2 separate regions of the Homo sapiens genome follow, and region 2 is linked to region 1. Evidence: promoter capture Hi-C in 16 types of primary human blood cells and fetal thymus (Javierre and others, 2016). All regions are on one chromosome and are shown on one strand. The core of a region is centred on a gene start or on the middle of the fragment in contact, and the rest is flanking DNA. Distances in the headings are between cores, read along the strand shown.

Region 1 (3,963 bases), core at 8-2,507:
CACTGGTCCAGTAACCCATGGTGAGATTCTGATTAGATCTTTCTACTTTCTTGGGCACTGATTTGCCTTCCTGTCGACAGGAGAGGGTTACCCTAGGGGGCCCTAGCGTTCTTCCTCTGTATGGGAGTTTTCCTCGGAGCCTGGCTCTGTGCGCAATGGCCACCCACCCCGCCCACCCGGCAGGTTCTGTGATGTCTGTGATCTCACCTGCTGCAGGCCTCCGGGCTCCGGGGATTCTTGAGTCGGGGGAAGGAACAGCTTTGAGACGAGGAGGCAGAAAGAGTTAGAAATGCGGGGAGCCGTGAGGAGAGAAGACACTCAGATGCAGTGGCAGAGCCAAGCGGAGGACGCAGGGGCCGCAGAGCCCAGGGCTGCAGGGACTGCCAGACACACACCCCCAGCTCCCAGGCCTCCCTGGAAGAGGCTGGTTCTGTCCCCAGATGCTTCTGGAACGTCCTTTTAACCCCTGTCTCTCAGGTCCCTGAGCCAGGAGACTGGCTACACCCTTTTCCTCCTTACCCAGGCCTCCCACACACATTCCTCCCGCCCCCACGCTCTGCTCTTGGTGACCCCTGACCAGGCCTCCAGGGAAGGGAGCACTGGTCCCTGAGTGCAGTGAGGGCCTGGACTCCTGGGTCTGAGGGAGGAGGGGCTTGGGGGCCTGGACTCCTGAGTCTGAGGGAGGAGGGGCTGGGGGCCTGGACCCTTGCGTCTGAGGGAGGAGGGGCTTGGGGCCTGGACTCCTGGGTCTGAGGGAGGAGGTGAGAACTTGGACTCCTGGGTCTGAGGGAGGAGGGGCTGGGGGCCTGGACTCCTGAGTCTGAGGGAGGAGGTGGGAACTTGGACTCCTGGGTCTGAGGGAGGAGGGGCTAGGACCTAAACTCCTGGGTCTGAGGGAGGAGGGGCTGGGGCCTGAATCTGAGGCAGAGGAAGTTCTAGTCGGCTCAGTCCTTAGACCTCCGGGTTTTGGAGAAAGAAAGTGTCTGAAGACAAATTCCGGCCTCTGGGGCAAGCAGATGGTGCCCCAGGCCTCCCTGCACCCCCAGCACTCTCTGTGCCACCCAGGGACCTGCAGGCCCTCACTCCGGGCTCTAGAGCCCTCCGGCACTGGGAAGCAGCCTGCCCAGGTTCAGTGCGGTTGGGGTGACTCACACACCTGCCCGTAGGTCCCTCTGTGTGCTGCCTGCCGACCTCTGTGTCCCCAGGAGAGAGCGAGCCAGCCAGCCGGGGAGACAGCTACAGCGTGTGTCACCACACTGGCCCCCGCCCCTGCCCCGGGCTGGGGAGCAGGCCCAGGCGCGATGGGGAAAGGGCCCAGGAACAATCGGGCTTTGTCCGCCCCCAGCACCCCAGTGCCATGCTCCCAGCAGCTCCGGCCTCAACCTCTCTTCCGGCGGGCAGGCGGGAGGGCGGTTACATCAATGGCTTCCTTTTGTCCCTGTCTGACAGTCCTCCTTTGCAGTCTCTGACTGCCCACCTGGCCCTGACTGGAGATTTCGGCACTCCACATCCTCCTGGTCCTTCTCCTCCAAGTCTGCCCACCCCTGAGGTCTCTTGCTCCATCTGTCTCCCTGGCCATGGAGGGGAGGGAGCTTCCATCTCTCTCTCTCTCCCATCTCAGTCTCTGTATTTGTGTCTCTCTCCCTCTTTTTTTCTCTCTCTCCCTTCCTCTCTCCCTTCCTCTCTCCCTTCCTCCCTTCCTTCCTTCCTTCTTTCTTTCCTTCCTTCTTTTCTTTCTTTCTTTCTTTTTTTTTGACGGAGTCTTGCTCTGTCACTCAGGCTGGAGTGCAGTGGTGTGATCTCAGTTCACTGCAACCTCCGCCTCCTGAGTTCAAGCAGTTCTCCTGCCTCAGCTTCCCAAGTAGCTGGGATTACAGGCACCCACCACCACGCCCGGCTAAATGTTTTTTGTATTTTTAGTAGGGAAGAGGTTTCACCATGTTGGCCAGGCTGGTCTCAAACTCCTGACCTCAGGTGATCCACCCACCTTGGCCTCCCAAAGTGCTGGATTACAGGTGTGAGCCACTGTGCCCGGCCTCTCTCCCTTTCTTTCCCCTTGATTCTCTGACTCTCCGTGCTTATCTTCTCCTGGGTCTCTTCTTAGATTTCCCCGGGGGTAGCACTGTGTGTGCCCAGAAGGGAGTCAGTTTCCCCAGGAAGTAGCGGGGATGATTCCCGAGCGATGAGGAAGCTAGCAGGATGGAAGAGGACTTGAGGACTTATTGATGAGATGCGGACACACAGCGAGAGGCATGGAGTTAAGCAGAAATCGGAGAGCACTTGGGAACGACGTGGGGCTGTGATAAGATGGTGGTGCTGGGCAGTAGCAGAGGGATCTGGGAAGATTTAGGGAGGTGTCTTTGAACTTGGGCCTAGAAAGCTGAGCCAGGCGTAGGTCAGGAGGAAAGGCCGTGAAAATGCCTGGCCTGGGTGCACATGGGAAACCACAGGCAGTGGTTGGGGTGGTTGGTATGGGCTGGAGGGTGAGGGTGTGTGCGTGGCAGAGTGGAGAGAAATGAGGAGGGGGAAGTCACTGCGTAATAAGGACAATGATAGGAATGAAGTCTGGCTCAGCACCTGCTTGGGCTGGGCACTACAGGTAACTTAAAAAAAAAAGTTCTTTTTTCTTTTGAGACAAGGTCTTGTTCTGTCGCCTAGGCTGGAGTGCAGTGGCACGATCCTTGCTCGTGGCAGCCTCAACCCTCCTGGGCTCAAGCGACCCTCCCGCCTCAGTCTTCCCAGGAGCTGGGACCATAGGCATGAGCCACTGTTCCCAGCCAACCCTTTTCTTTGTCTTGCATTGAATCTAATTGTCATCTTGCATTGTGCACCCCCCATCACTCCAGGGATGAAGACTACTTCGGTATTCAGTATACTCTCCGGGTGCTCCCTCTCACATTTGGTCCCCACTGACCTCAGCACCTTCTTCTCAGGACGTGCTATCTTCACAGACAGCAAGTCTGATGTTGCACAACCCAGTGACCAGGCCCTATCCCTCTGCCTCCTCTCTCTGGGGGGTCCCTTCCTCTCTGTACCCACACCCTCAACCCCAACTCAGAGCTGCACCTCTCCCACCTGGACCAGGATCCCTCTGTTCTCTGTATCCCTTGCCCCAGAGAGACCTTCCTGTGCCTTGTGCTGACCTTGCCCCTCCTCTCACAGACGTGCCCTGGGTCCCCATCTCCCTTGGGACCAAGTCCCAGCCCCCCAGCCTGGCATTTGAGGACCTTTAGCATCCAGGGAAGTCCTGGCCAATGAAATGTGATGCCAAGCACGCATGCACATTTACATTTTCCAATCACCATACTTTTTTTTTTAAGTCAGAAGATTTTTTAAGTGTCCTTACCACAAAAAATAAGGGTGTAAAATAATGCATATGTTAAATAGCTTGGTTTAGCCATTCCACAACATATACATACATATATCAAACATGATGTTATACACCAGAAATATATACAATTTTTACTTGTCAATTAAAAAATAAATTTAAGGCCAGGCATGGTGGCTCATGTCTGTAATCCCAGCACTTTGAGAGGCCAAGGTGGGTAGATAGCTTGAGTCCGGAAGTTCATGACCAGCCTGGGCAACATAGTGAGAAACCATCTCTGCAAAAAGTAAAAAAATTAGCCAGATGTGGTGGTGCACACTTGTAGTCCCAGCTACTCCGGAGGCTGAGGCGGGAGAATTGCTGAGCCTGGGAGGTCGAGCCTGCAGTGAGCTGTGACTATACCACTGCACCCCAGCCTGACATGGCTGGGCAAGGTGGCTCATGCCTGTAATCCAAGCACTTTGGGAGGCAGAGGTGGGAAGATCACTTGAGCCTAGGAGTTCGAGACCAGCCTGGACAATATAGTGAGACCCTATCTCTAAAAAAAAAAACAAAAAAAAGAAAAGAAAAAAATTACCTAGGTGTGGTGGCACACATCTGTGGTCCCAGCTATGCAGAAGGCTGAGGTGGGATAG
Region 2 (4,048 bases), core at 1,013-3,512, 790 kb before region 1:
TGCCCACCACCATGCCTGGCTAATTTTTGTGTTTTTAGTAGAGACAGGGTTTTGACATGTTGGCCAGGCTGGCCTTGAACTCCTGACCTTAGGTGATCTCCCCGCCTTGGCCTCCCAAAGTGGTGGGATTACAGGCGTAAGCCACTGTGCCAGCCTATCTATCTATCCGTCGGTCTGTCTGTCTATCTATCTATCTACCTTTTCAGAGACAAGGTCTCACTCTGTCACCCAGGCTGGAGTGCAGTGGCTCAATCACAGTTCACTGCAGCCTCAAACTCCTGGGCCCAAGTGATTCTCCCACTTCAGCCTCCTGAGTAGCTGGACTACAGGTGCATGTCACTACACCTGGTTAATTTTAATTTTTTTAAAATAGAGATGAGGGTCTTGCTATGTTGCCCAGGCCGGTCTTGAACTCCTGGCCTCAAGCAATTCTCCTGCGTTGGCCTCCCAAAGTGCTGGGATTACAGGCACGAGCCACCGTGCAATCTATACAATCTGGATTTTACCAAGTCCTAGAGGTGGTTTCAGCTTTGCTCAAGTTTAAGCAGCTCCAGCTTTGCTGCTTAAAATGTGGTCCATGAAGTAGCAGCATCAGCATCACCTGGAGTTTATATTAAAAATACAGAACCTCCACCCCACCCTGGACCTGCTGAATCAGAATTTTAAGATCCCTCACAACATTAACTGCGGGAGGGATGCTGTGTCCTTGATGCATGACATCAAGAGGTCTCTGATGTCAGCAGGTCCCACAACGGGTGATACTAACTTTGATCCCATGCTTAAGATGCTGTCTACCCAGTTTCTCCTCTGTAAAGTTACTCTTTCTCACACAGAGCTCATTTGATGGCTTTTACCAACGCACATTTTTAGAGCATATGAAACTGTGAGAATCCCTGATCTAGAGAGTATTGCTCAATAACCATAGGTGTAATGACCCATGTTTGTAATAACAGCCCTGAGTCAAGGAAAGAGCTGATTAATTACGGCATCTGTGGGAGGTAATTTAGCTTAATGGGTAAGAGTTCAGACTTGGAGGCACCAAATTAGGGACGCAGGTAGCCAAAGCGCAGAGGTTTAAAACTTCTACCTTCACTGTACTTTTGTTTCCTATTCTCAGTATTCAGCTCCTTACTATGTTCTCTCTATCCCCCTGTTGCCTTGTTTTGTTGTATTTTTTTTGAAACAGGGTCTCTCTCTGTCACCCAGGCTGCAGTGCAGTGGCGCGATCTTGGCTCACTGCAACCTCTGCCTCCTGGGTTCAAGTGATTCTCCTGTCTCAGCCTCCCAAATAGTTGGGATTACGGGCATGTGCCACCACACCTGGCTAATTTTTGTAGTTTTGTAGTAGAGATGGGGTTTCACTATGTTGGCCAGGCTGGTCTCGAACTCCTGACCTCAGGTGATCCACCCTCCAGGGTCTTTCTCTGTTGCCCACGCTGCAGTGCAGTGGTGCAATCATAGCTCACTGCAGCCTTGAACTCCTGGGCTCATGCGATCCTCCTGCCTCAGCCTCCAGAGTAGTTGGGACTACAGGCATGTGCTACCATGCCCGGCTAACTTTTTGATTCTCGGTAGAGACAGGAGTAGAGGCTGGCCTCGAACTCCTGACCTCAAATGATCCGCCCGCCTTAGCCACCCAAAGTGCTGGGATTACAGGCATGAGCCATTACGCTCAGCCTTGTTCAGCATTTTTAAAAGCTTCACTGCCTGCCCAGCGTGATGGCTCACACCTGTAATCCCAGCACTTTGGGAGGCCGAGTGGGGCAGATCATGAGGTCAGCGATTTGAGACCAGCCTGACCAACATGGTGAAACCCCGTCTCTACTAAAAATACAAAAACCAGCCAAGTGTGGTGGCAGGCACCTGTAGTCCCAGCTACTTGGGAAGCTGAGGCAGGAGAATCGCTTGAACCCGGGGTGGGGGGGCAGAGGTTGCAGTGAGCTGAGATCGTGCCACTGCACTCTAGCCTGGTGACAGAGCGAGACACCATCTAAAAAATAAAAATAAATAAAAATAAAATAAATAAATAAATAAATAAAAGCTTCACCGCCTGACATTATGTCAAACATTTTATTGTTTACTTGTTCATTGTCTCTTCCATGAGAAGTTGAGATCCAGGAGGACAGACACTCTGGCTTGTCTATGGGGGTATTCTCAGTTCACAGCACAGTGCCCAGCATACGGTAGGTGCTTAAAAAATTGTGTTGAATTTTTAAAAATGTGAGCACTGGAATCAGACTCACATGAGTTCAAATCCCAGCTCTGCCCCTTACTTATCTGTCTCTAAGTCTGTTTCTGTGTTGGTGAAATTGAGATAATGGTGCTGAAAGGGTTAAAGAAATATGATGCATGTGAAGGTTTTGCCATATATGGCTTTTGAAAACCTTTTTATTTTGAAATAATTTCAGACTTAACAAAAAAGTTGCAAAAATAATGCAAAGAATTCTCATACAAAATAATGCAAAGAATTCTCACTCTTCACCCAAGCTTCTCCAAAGGTTGAAACTTTTCATAACCACAGTAAAATATTATGAAATAAACATGGTAACATTTCTGTGGACTAATCTACGAACCCTTTCCCTCCCTCCCTCCCTCCCTCCCTCCCTTCCTTCTTTCCTTCCTTCCTTCCTTCCTTCCTCCTCCTTCCCCTCCTTCCCTCCCTCCTTCCCTTCTTTCTCTCTCTCTTTCTCTTTCTTTCCCTCCCCTCCCTTCCCCTCCCCTCCCCTCCCTTCCCTTCCTTCCTTCCTTCCTTCTTTCCTTCCTTCCATCCTTCCTTCCTTCCTTCCTTCCGACAGAGTCTCACTGTGTTGCCCAGGCTGGAGTGTGGTGGCACAGTCACAGCCACTGCAGGCTTGACCTCCCAGGCTCAAGCAATCCTTGAGCCAAGACCTGGGTCACCTACTGATTTCTTTTTGTTACAGGCGTGTGCCACCATGTCTGGCAATTTTTTTTTTTTAATTTTGTAGAGATAGGGGTCTCTCGGCTGGGCGTGGTGGCTCGTGCCTGTAATCCCAGCACTTTGGGAAGCCGAGGCAGGCAGATCACCTGAGGTCAGGAGTTCGAGACCAGCCTTGCCAACATGGTGAAACCCTGTCTCTACTAAAAATACAAAAATTAGCCGGGCGTGGTGGCACGTGCCTGTAATCCCTGCTACTCCGGAGGCTGAGGCAGGAGAATCGCTTGAACCCAGGAAGCGGAGTTTGCTGTGAGCCAAGATCATGCCACTGCACTCCAGCCTGGGCGACAGAAAAAGACTCCGTCTCAAAAATACAAAAATTAGCCGGGCGTGGTGGTGGGCGCCTGTAATCCCAGCTACTTGGGAGGCTGAGGCAGGAGAATCGCTTGAACCCGGGAGGTGGAGGTTGCGGTGAGCCGAGACTGTGCCACTGCACTCCAGCTTGGGCAACAAGAGCAAAACCTCGTCTCAAAAAAAAAATAATAATAATAAATAAAAATAAAGAGAGAAATGACTGATTCATATAACAACATGGATGAATATCAAAAGCTTTACGTGGAGTGAAAGAAACACAAAAGATCATCTACTATAGGATTCTATTTATAAAAAGCTCTAGAACAGACAAAACTAATCTGTGGTGATAAAAAGCAGAACATTAGTTGCCTGGGGGTGGGTGGAGGTGCGAGTTGGCTGGGGAGAGTGTCAGGTAACTTTCTAGGACATGGAAATGTTCTATTTTTTTCTAGTTGGGTGTATACGTTTGTCAAAACTCATTGAATGGTATACTTAGCAATTGTACATTTAACTGTCTGTAAATTTTACCTAAATAAAAGGAACCCTAAACAAATATTGAAATTGAATTAATGATGTGTGCAATGAAGTGTTTATGGCTGAAGCCTACTGACGTCTGCAGATTATTCTAATGAATGGATAAGCTGCAGTTTCTCAACTCCAGCACTATTGACATTTGAGGCCAGAGAATTATTTGTTGTGGGAGGCTGTCCTGTGCATTGTAGGATGTGGTTGACATCCTGGCCTCTACCCACTAAATGCCAGCAGCACTCCCACACACACAGGTTGACAGTAATAAAT

Evidence for each region. The method cuts DNA at HindIII sites, captures the fragments that hold promoters and counts their contacts. A CHiCAGO score of 5 or more calls a contact.
Region 2: a fragment that was not itself captured here is called in contact with the fragment with the promoter of KLK6 in region 1 in 2 of 17 cell types (M0 macrophages and total B cells); the score reaches 7.6 in M0 macrophages.

Annotation. Positions count from the first base shown.
Region 1 is chr19:50,968,334-50,972,296 of GRCh38, forward strand. It overlaps KLK6 (kallikrein related peptidase 6), which reads right to left and starts at 1,258. Exons shown (of 7, transcript NM_002774.4): 1 at 1,157-1,258; 2 at 208-258. LOC105372442 (a long non-coding RNA gene) reads left to right here. Exons shown (of 7, transcript XR_007067308.1): 4 at 1-20. The HindIII fragment of the contact is 4,765 bases long and covers 1-3,963 here.
Region 2 is chr19:50,180,412-50,184,459 of GRCh38, forward strand. The region is part of intron 1 of LOC124904746 (a long non-coding RNA gene); the gene reads right to left. Among named protein-coding and RNA genes, the nearest start is that of IZUMO2, 19 kb to the left of the region's middle. The HindIII fragment of the contact is 446 bases long and covers 2,040-2,485 here.